3 separate regions of the Homo sapiens genome follow, and all the other regions are linked to region 2. Evidence: promoter capture Hi-C in 16 types of primary human blood cells and fetal thymus (Javierre and others, 2016). All regions are on one chromosome and are shown on one strand. Each heading gives the region's core, a stretch centred on a gene start or on the middle of the fragment in contact. The rest is flanking DNA. Distances are from core to core; before and after follow the strand shown.

Region 1 (3,329 bases), core at 289-2,788, 610 kb before region 2:
CAGCCAAAAGAAGAGATGCACAGGGCAAGGACTGGGAGTGTCCCAAACATGAAGCTTCCATGTCTTCTCCTTGTGGAGTCAGGACAAAGGACCCTTCCAGCACACTGATGTGAGACAAGACACTGAGCGTAGCCAAGCAGTCAGACTCACCCGAGCTTTGATATCCATTGTTTTTATTAGGGGCTTCATCACATAGGCATGACTCATTGGATCACTGGCCTATGACTCAATCTTCAGCCCTGCTCCTCTCCCCAGAAGTCAGGCCTATATCAAAAGCTCAAAGCCCCAACCTTCTAAATACATGGTTGGTTTTTCTGGCATGGCCAGCCCCCATCTTGAGTCATTCCATTAGCATAAATTGTGTAAGGTCCCATCATGAGTCACCTCATTAGCATAAACTCAAGTGTGGTTGACAGGCCAACCACCAGTAAAAAAGACACTCTTCGACTTGGAAAATTCCAAGGATTTAGAGCCTATCTCCCAGGAACTGGGGACAAAGGCCAAATTCTTTATTACACAGGATAATTAATTTGAAAATCAGCAATGATCTTAAGTGCATTAATAGTTTCTTCCTTTTCATTGCTGAGTAGTATTCCATTGCATGGATATACCACGATTTATCCATTCATTTATATTGTATTATATTACCATACATTTCAATTCCAAACATGTAATTGCTTTCAGTTTTTGATGATTACAAATAAAACTTTTATGAATATTCATATCTAAGTCTTTGTGTGAACACACGCTTTCATTTCTCTTGGGTAAATACCAAGGAGTGGATTGACCAAATCATATGGTAGACATATGTTTAACTTTTAAAGAACTGCTAATAGTTTCCCAAAGTGGTTGTGCCATTTTACATTCCCACCAGCAGGGCATGAGAGTTCCAGCTTCTCTACACCCTCACCAACACTCAGTAAAATCAATCTCTTTAATTTTAACCGTTCTAACAGGCATGTAGTAGTAGAGTTGTTTCTTGGTATCCTTGGGGAATTGGTTCCAAGACCACCTCCTACAGATACCAAATCCAAGGATGCTCAAGTCCCTTCTATATAATGGCATAGTATTTGCATATAACTTATGCACATCATCTTATATACTTTAAATCATTTCTAGATTATTTAAAATACCTAATATAATGTAAATGCTATGTAAGTAGTTGTTATTCCCTACTTTTGCATCTGTATTATTTTTGTTGTTGTTTGGATTATTTTTGATCCATGGTTGGTTGAATCAGCAGGTACGGAGCCCACAGATACAGAGGACAGACTGTATCTCACTGTGATTTTAATTCTCATGTCCCTAATAACTAGTAATGTTGAGCACCCTTTCTCTGTACCGTGCTTTTGAAAATTAATCAGCAGCATAGAAGTACACAAGAATAACAACAGCCTCAGGTGACTATAAGAGCACATTACCTATCAGAATAGTAAATGCTTCAGAGCAGTGGTCTTTGTTTCTAGAATGCTTTAATGGGAGGAAAAAAAAAACAGAACAAAACAAAAAGACTTGATAACTTTGTGTCTTGGATAGTTTTACATACTCACAAGCCTAAAGATATTGAACCAAGTCAAATGATCTCTAGAGGCCCCTTTGACAATTCTTTTTTTTTACATTTTTTATTAGCAATGCTTTTGGAGAAAGAGCTTTTGAGAATTCAAATGTACGCGTGGGGATATGGCCTTTGTAGGAAAATGCTGAGACCACTGACTGCTTTCAAAGTTTATAAAAATGCGGAAGATGATCTTCAGTGCAAATTCCTTCGTTTAAACAAAGTCTGTCCCTGCCACACTGTTTGCCACATGGGTCTCCAGCATGCGGGATGGGAATAGTAATCTTTCTGACAGGCACATCTCTATAGGAAGTCTTTCCTGACCAACACCCTACTTTTCTATTTCTGCTAACTTTGGTTTACCATTCCCCCTCGACTTGGTTTCAAGGAAGTGGCTTTTCACGTTTTAGGGCATATTGTTTCCTTTAATAAGCTGACGAATGTCACAGGGGCTGTCCTCTGAAATATGCATATCAGATTTTTCATGCTGGTCACATTTCATGGATAAAACAACAACAACAACAAAACAGTCACTGGCCTCAGGTTAATTAAACAGATGAACCTGCTTGAGGCAGATTTTCTGCCAGATATCTTCCCAATGTCCCAAATTAGGAAACCTCCTTTCTAATTTCGTCTTCCCTTTACTCCATGACCTGTGATTTTGCTGTCACGAGCTTCCCGAATTCTCTTCACTTTGCCCCTTCTCCTTGTTGAGCCCTGCAGGCTTCTGTCTTTATGCTGGCGGCACCCTGGGGTGAGGTGTTGCAGAGTCAGAGGCTGTGATAGAGGGAAGTAAGTTCAGAGTGAAGGCCCTGGGCTCAAGCGTTCTTCAGGTCACCCTTCCTTCATAAGTATGTACTGAGCAAGGCTGTGATCCTTCAGGGTGCTGGGTGAGTCTTTAGGAACGCGTCTACCACTCCCTCCTGCATAACGTCACCAGATGCCTCCCACATCTTCCCGGGGTAATTAATGTCACCTCCCAATGGCTTTATGCCATTCTGCACATTTTGTTCACAGGGCCGCAATCATTGTTTGGGGATGCACATGTGAACTACCCCCCCCGTCCGATCGGAGTAACACTCAACGGACTCTCTCCCTTGGATATGAGGCCGATGCTACCCACCCTGCCTATTTGTGCAGATGTGAAACCTTGAACTGCACTTTGTTTCTATGACAAAGCCTGCCTGGGAACAATACTGACAATTTAGAAGGAAAGGCCGAACCACAAAACCATGTCCACAAACAGAATGGGACAGGACAACGTAAATGTCAAGTGAGAAGTTTAAATAGTGAGCATTTCTCTCTGGGCAGACAGGACAGCTGAGCGCAGGGACCTTCTGAAAAGACCCTCATGGAGTTTATGAAATAAGCCGGCGTATGGAGGAAGGACTGGGTCGTAAAGTCTTAGACTTCAAGCTGTGACTTTCACTCTATTACCTACTTTACCAGTAGGTCAGTTAAGCTTTACAGAATCAAAAGTAAATACAATTCTCAGCTCCTGATCTTGTAGCTGTTAAAGATATTGAGTTTGACCCTCTGACATGTCTTGGTTCCAGCTAAGAGGAATGTAAATATTGAATGAGCCATTAACCATCATGCTCAGGTTTACTTAGACCACTATTTCCCAACTGAGTTTTGCAGAACATGCAATCCTAGTGGTGTGGAGGGTTGGGGAGAGCATTACATAAGGATTCTGTCTGTGGTCAAACAACTTTGGAAAATGATGTTAATTATTGTCACCTTTTAGAAACTTGCAATACCTGTTAGCAATTAA
Region 2 (3,026 bases), core at 158-2,657:
TCACTGCAACCTCCACCTCCTGGGTTCAAGCGATTCCCATGCCTCAGCCTCCCGAATAGCTGGGATTACAGGCACGCGCCACCACGCCCGGCTAATTTTGTATTTTTAGTGGAGACAGGGTTTCAGCATGTTGGTCAGTCTGGTCTCGAGCTCCTGACCTCAGGTGATCCGCCCTCCTAGGCCTCCTAAAGCGCTGGGATTACAGGTGTGAGCCACAGTGCACAGCCCGCTTTTCCCTGTTTGTAGCGCCTATTATCTTACGGATTTATTTGTTTGCATGTCTGTTGTTGATCTCCCTGACTAGAATACCCTTACTAGGTAATCAATAAACATATACAAATATTTGTTGAAGGAATGAGAAATGCCTCTTGGGCTTGTAGTTTAGGCTGGCTAAAAGCACTGAGATGGGGAGTGGGGAGTAGGAAGAGATTGTTCTCCTGGGAGATGGGCCGGGAGGTTCCTTGAGGATGGGACTTGACTCAGCAATTAAAGAACTTTCAGATCTGCAGGGACCTGCGCTGAGGCCCAAAGGTCATGAGGTCGCCGATGATAAGAGCTTCTTGGACTGTAGCTGGGCAATGTCGGAGGCCCAGCACCTCCAAGGGACAAAGAAATCTGAGTTGAGTTTCCCTTCCAGCCGGCTCCAAGCCTCCCAGAGACGCAGGGACTGTCCCATTCCCTTCGTCCACTCCCACTCTTTCCAGCCACCTTGCTCTGCTCTTATCCCCATGCTAGTTTAAGGACGCTGGCCATTTTTTGCACTCTGCAAATCCCTCACCAAACTGAGCAAAGTAGTCTGAAAGAAATCAGTCTTCCTCAAGGAAGGTTCAGGCCTGGGGTCCTCAGACAACCAGGGGCTCCGTGACAATCTGTGACTGCAGAGCAGTCCAGGAACACCGGCCTCTCCAGGTTCGGGTCCCTTGTTTCTCAGGCCCAGCTTGGTGGGAAGCTAAAGGCATGCAGAGGAGGGGAAGGGGAGCGGGTCTGAGTCTTCGGCATGGCGGGGAACTCAGCCCGGCGTGGTGGTGGCAGCGGTCTCAAGTGATCCACAACTGGGCAGCGTAGCTGGGGCTGGGGGCCGCTCCCGGCGTGGGCAACAGCAGAAGCATTGGTGTCCCCAAGCTAGGCCAGGGTGGGTTTCCGTTCATCCGCCCTGCGTGGGCAGATCGGGCGCTGCGGGGCTGTGCCACCTCGCACCCTCTGAGGAACAAAGGGCCTGGCTGCGCGCGGGTACCCAGCCGTTAGGTTAGAAGCGCCTTCGGGTACCCCTGACCTTCGCTGGCCCTGAGAGACCCGCAGCAGCCGGAGAATGTACTGCTCGCGAGGATTTCCGAGAACGCGGCGCCGAGCCCGCGTACACGGTTACCAAGGCAACTGGGCGGTGCCTGAGCGGGCGGGAAGGAGGCGTTCGTCTAGATTTGTCGGCTTGCGGGGAGACTTCAGGAGTCGCTGTCTCTGAACTTCCAGCCTCAGAGACCGCCGCCCTTGTCCCCGAGGGCCATGGGCCGGGTCTCAGGGCTTGTGCCCTCTCGCTTCCTGACGCTCCTGGCGCATCTGGTGGTCGTCATCACCTTATTCTGGTCCCGGGTAAGACCCACGGCTGCACTCAATCCGTCCCCATTCCCATCTCTGAGTGGTCCTAGTCCTACCCTGCCCCCTCCCAGTGTCTTACCCTCTTGGGTTTTCTTGTTTCCCGCCGCCCCCAGGCCTGCCCTGCAGCCTGCCCCTTTTTCACTTCTCTTCCTGTGCCCTGCTCCCAGGACAGCAACATACAGGCCTGCCTGCCTCTCACGTTCACCCCCGAGGAGTATGACAAGCAGGACATTCAGTGAGCTCTTGGGACGGGGTGGCCAGAACGAAGAGGTGGTGGGAGTGGAGGGGTCTTAGAATAAGTCCAAAGGCCTGGGCCAGTCCACTTCCTCTCTGCAGGCTGGTGGCCGCGCTCTCTGTCACCCTGGGCCTCTTTGCAGTGGAGCTGGCCGGTTTCCTCTCAGGAGTCTCCATGTTCAACAGCACCCAGAGCCTCATCTGTATCCTTTCTGCCTGCCCACCTTTCCCACACGACCCACTTCTATCAGGACTCCCTTCAGCCACCTGACACAATAGTGTCTGCTGTAGCCAATCCTTCCAGTTCAAAGATCTTCAACGATGTGCTAAATCCTGCTGTTTACTAGGCACTTAAAATCCCAAAATGAGAGTAAAATACAGTTTTTGGCCAGGCATGTTGGCTCACGTCTGTAATCCCAGCACTGTGGGAGGCGCAGGCAGGAGGCAACATAGTGAGAACCCAAGTCTACAAAAATAATAGGAATAATAAAAACCCCACCGTTTCTTTTTACAATGAGGAGGAGGTAGATACAAATCTGTAATTCAGTGTGATAAGCACTGTGCTATAGAAGTGTGTGAAGATAGAAAGCACAGGCAGGGCGCGATGGCTCACGCATGTAATCCCAGCACTTTGGGAGGCCGAGGCAGGTGGACCACCTGAGGTCAGGAGTTCGAGACCGGCCTGACCAACATGGTGAAACCCCCGTCTCTACTAAAAATACAAAAATTAGTCGGGCGTGGCGGCGCACTCCTGTAATCCCAGCTACTCAGGAGACTGAGGAAGGAGAATTGCTTGAACCCGGGAGGCAGAGGTTGCAGTGAGCTGAGATCGTGCCACTGCACTCCAGCCAGGGCAACAGAGCAAGACTCTGTCAAAAAACAAACAAAAGATATAAAGCACAATGGGAACTCAGAAGAGGCAACGGAAGCGAGCACTGGGAACTCAGAAGAGGCAAAGGAGATGAGGCACATGGGTCAGAGAATTGTGGACCAGGAGGACCAGGACACTGGAGGCTGATTCCAGCGCATATTAAGTCGCTGTCAGCACTCCTTTGTGGCATAGCAGAAGGAGAGCCTACTCTTACCTCTCATCTGAAGGATCCAGGCTGGCCCACAGATAAGGGGTAGGGTAGCCTGAGGTCCGATCTGTGCAGTCACTTCTGGTCTCTCCTCACATGACTGTCCTAAAATTCAGAAGT
Region 3 (3,031 bases), core at 346-2,845, 850 kb after region 2:
GGTAAGGGCCGCCCAGAGAGAGCCTCTGGGCCGGGGCTTTCGGTGGGGCTGGGACTGGGGGCTGTACCTCATCCTCCTGCTTCTCTTTGGTGCTTGGCCTCCCTGTGTTTGACTTTCTCCCCTCATTCTCCCTGTCCACTCCCACACCCCCGTACCTTCCTGCCACAGGAGTGGCAACCCCCTTGACGCCCCCAGTGGTGTATGGTGTGGTGGACTTGTACGGGATGGCAGTGAAGGTGACCATCGTCCACAATAACAACCACAGTGACCGTCTCCGCCGAAACAACGCCATCCTGCGGGCGCTGTCCCCCGAGGGTGCTCTCCGCCGTGCTGCCCCTGCCGCCCAGGCAGAACCTGAGCGCCTGCTCTTCCACCCCAACTGTGGGCAGAAGGCAGCCATCACCCACGAGGGACGCACTGCCCTGAGGCCCCAGTATGGCCCATGGGGTGGGGAGAAGCCTGAAGAAGGGATTCTAATGGGGGGGGGGGGGCGGGGCAAGGAAGTGGAAGGCAGAGGGAGCCTGGCGGGGGCAGCTTCCTGGAGGTTGAGCTTTAGTTCTTTGGCTTGGGGCAGTGAGTGTTGGCAGGCATTGCTGGGCTAAGCCTTGGCACATTGAGAGCGTGTGTTGGGGATCTGACTCTCCACTTGCTGTGCCCTCAGTGCCACCGATGACTTCAATCACGGCGTGGTGCTGAGCAGCAGAGCCCTGCGGGATGGAGAGGTGTTCCAGGTGCGCATCGACAAGATGGTGGACAAATGGGCTGGCTCCATTGAAATTGGTGTCACCACCCACAACCCTGCCTACCTCCAGTTGCCCTCCACCATGACCAACTTGCGCTCTGGTGAGCTCCCAGGAAGGGCAGGGACAGGATAGGGTTTTGGGGGGAAGCTATCCCCAAAGCCCTGGCACTTGTTCTGCAGCTCCTTTTTCACTTGTCACTCTTGTGACCACTCATTCAGTGGCTAGAGAGTGTCCCGTGGGCAGGGCTGTGGCTGTCTTGGAAGCTGCAGAGTTTTCTTGTCCTGCTCAGGGAAGAAATCTAGTCATCAAAGAAAAGGCAAGGTGGACTGTGGGCTCGGGAGTCCTGTGGGCGCTGCTGTGGCAAGGAGAGGAGCCCTGCATTTCCCCTCATGTCCCCTCCTGCTCCTTGTCCTCCCAGGGACCTGGATGATGACTGGGAATGGGGTGATGCACAATGGGACGACCATCCTGGATGAATACGGGCACAATCTGGACCGCCTCAAGGTGGGAAAGTGGGTGCGCCGCCTGGCGGCCGCAGCGGGCATCACAAACACCGCGGGGCTGATGCAGGACCAGCCCCGGCAGGAACTCTGCCTGACTCCTCACTCCAGCACCCCCTTCTTCCAAGGCAGGGGACACGGTGGGCGTGGTACGGCGGGAGGACGGGACTCTCCACTTCTTTGTCAATGGGATGACTCAGGGCCCTGCTGCCTGGAACGTGCCCCCGGGCGTCTATGCTGTCGTCGATCTCTATGGCCAGGCGGCCCAGGCCACCATTGTGGACGACGTGGGTGAGGGCCGGGCTGGGCTGGGGCTGGGGGTTAGGGTGGCCTTGGGAGGTCTGAGAGACACCTAGAGACCTGATGGGTGATGTCCACTTTTACAGAGGTGGCTCCAGTTCCTGAACCACTCCCTGAGGGGAACAACCAGGTGTCTCCAAGCTCTCCGTCCTCAGGGGCCGGGGGCTCTGACCTGCGCTTCCATCAGCTGCACGGCAGTAACGCAGTCATCACTAACGGGGGCCGCACCGCCCTCCGCCACAACTGTCGCAGCGAGTTTAATGACGCCATCGTCATCTCCAACCGGTCAGTCTCTCAACTTTCATGTCCCCACCTTCCTCCTGCCCAGCCTCAGCCATGCAAGTAGAGCCTCTCTGATCGCCAGTCTCCTGGCAGGGCCCTGCGGGATGGAGAGCTGTTTGAAATTGTCATTCAGAAGATGGTGGACCGCTGGTCAGGCTCCATTGAGGCTGGTGAGGGCCGTCTGTGTGTGTTGGGGGCTGTTGGATGTCTGTGCCTTGGGGATCGGCCTTGACTTACCCCTGCCTCCTCCCAGGAGTGACTGCTATTCGGCCTGAAGACCTGGAATTCCCCAACACCATGACAGACATTGACTATGACACATGGATGCTGAGGTTGGGCTTCCTGCTTTGGGGACCAGCTTGGGGCTGAGTGGAGCTGGCTGGGATCAGGGAAGCAAGGTTTGGGCCTATGGTGGCTGTGGGTAGTGACAGACCTAGGGGATCTACCTGTCCCCTCCCCTTGAATTCTGGGAAGTCCTGCCCAGGCCCACAGGGGCTCAGTCCTCCTTCATCTTAGGCAGTTCTTGCTTTTTCCTAAGGGGATCCCAGGGACAGAGGAGATAGGATTGGGCCTTACACCCAGATCAAGACACCAGCCCAAGACATTGGAGGGTTCTGACAGACAGGGAGTGGGCAGGGGCCAATGTGAAGTTGAAGTTGGCAGGCTGACTCACCCCTTCTGCCATCCCCCCAGTGGTACAGCCATCATGCAAGACGGTAACACGATGCGCAACAATTATGGGTGTGACCTGGATGCGCTGGGCACAGGTGCACGCATTGGCATGATGCGAACTGCCAAGGGCGACCTGCACTACTTCATCAACGGCCAGGACCAAGGCGCTGCCTGCTCGGGCCTGCCTCCGGGTAAAGGTGACTATGTGGCTTTCAGCCTGCCACCCTCAGCCCAGACCACCTGGCTGTCAGGCTTCTGACCTTCCCTCTCCTCCCCAGAGGTGTATGCGGTAGTCGATCTCTATGGCCAGTGTGTCCAAGTGTCCATCACCAATGCCACCGGCCCCATGGACAACAGCCTGGCGACCAGCAACACTGCCACCGAGAAGTCCTTCCCACTGCACTCCCCAGGTGCGGCAGCAGGGCGGGGGCTGGACGGGCTCTGCTTGCCTGCTGTGCACCTGAGGAGTAGGGTTTCCAGGTTAGAGAGGTTCTGCAAAGACGGTTGGCTGGGGTAGCTGCCGGCTCCAGGGAA

What was found. Contacts are between HindIII fragments. The CHiCAGO score rates a contact against its expected background, and 5 or more counts as called.
Region 1: a contact is called between a fragment that was not itself captured here and the fragment with the promoter of TMEM107 in region 2, in 1 of 17 cell types (neutrophils). The highest score is 5.5, in neutrophils.
Region 3: a fragment that was not itself captured here is called in contact with the fragment with the promoter of TMEM107 in region 2 in 1 of 17 cell types (activated CD4 T cells); the score reaches 6.1 in activated CD4 T cells.

What each region holds. Positions count from the first base shown.
Region 1 is chr17:8,788,997-8,792,325 of GRCh38, reverse strand. No RefSeq gene overlaps it. Among named protein-coding and RNA genes, the nearest start is that of MFSD6L, 8.7 kb to the left of the region's middle. The HindIII fragment of the contact is 2,963 bases long and covers 57-3,019 here.
Region 2 is chr17:8,174,761-8,177,786 of GRCh38, reverse strand. It overlaps TMEM107 (transmembrane protein 107), which reads left to right and starts at 1,407. Exons shown (of 5, transcript NM_183065.4): 1 at 1,407-1,587; 2 at 1,761-1,828; 3 at 1,930-2,030. The coding sequence starts at 1,501. It overlaps LOC105371520 (a long non-coding RNA gene), which reads right to left. Exons shown (of 4, transcript NR_188261.1): 2 at 2,913-3,011. RefSeq lists enhancers at 1,110-1,229, 645-1,256, 1,410-1,459, 1,530-1,619, 1,780-1,829 and 3 more. The HindIII fragment of the contact is 13,203 bases long and covers 1-3,026 here.
Region 3 is chr17:7,322,611-7,325,641 of GRCh38, reverse strand. It overlaps NEURL4 (neuralized E3 ubiquitin protein ligase 4), which reads left to right. Exons shown (of 29, transcript NM_032442.3): 7 at 1; 8 at 169-433; 9 at 662-843; 10 at 1,162-1,247; 11 at 1,372-1,534; 12 at 1,630-1,828; 13 at 1,919-1,995; 14 at 2,079-2,157; 15 at 2,519-2,694; 16 at 2,776-2,907. Among named protein-coding and RNA genes, the nearest start is that of NEURL4, 5.2 kb to the left of the region's middle. RefSeq lists enhancers at 1,338-1,547, 1,289-1,794, 1,795-2,301. The HindIII fragment of the contact is 3,934 bases long and covers 1-3,031 here.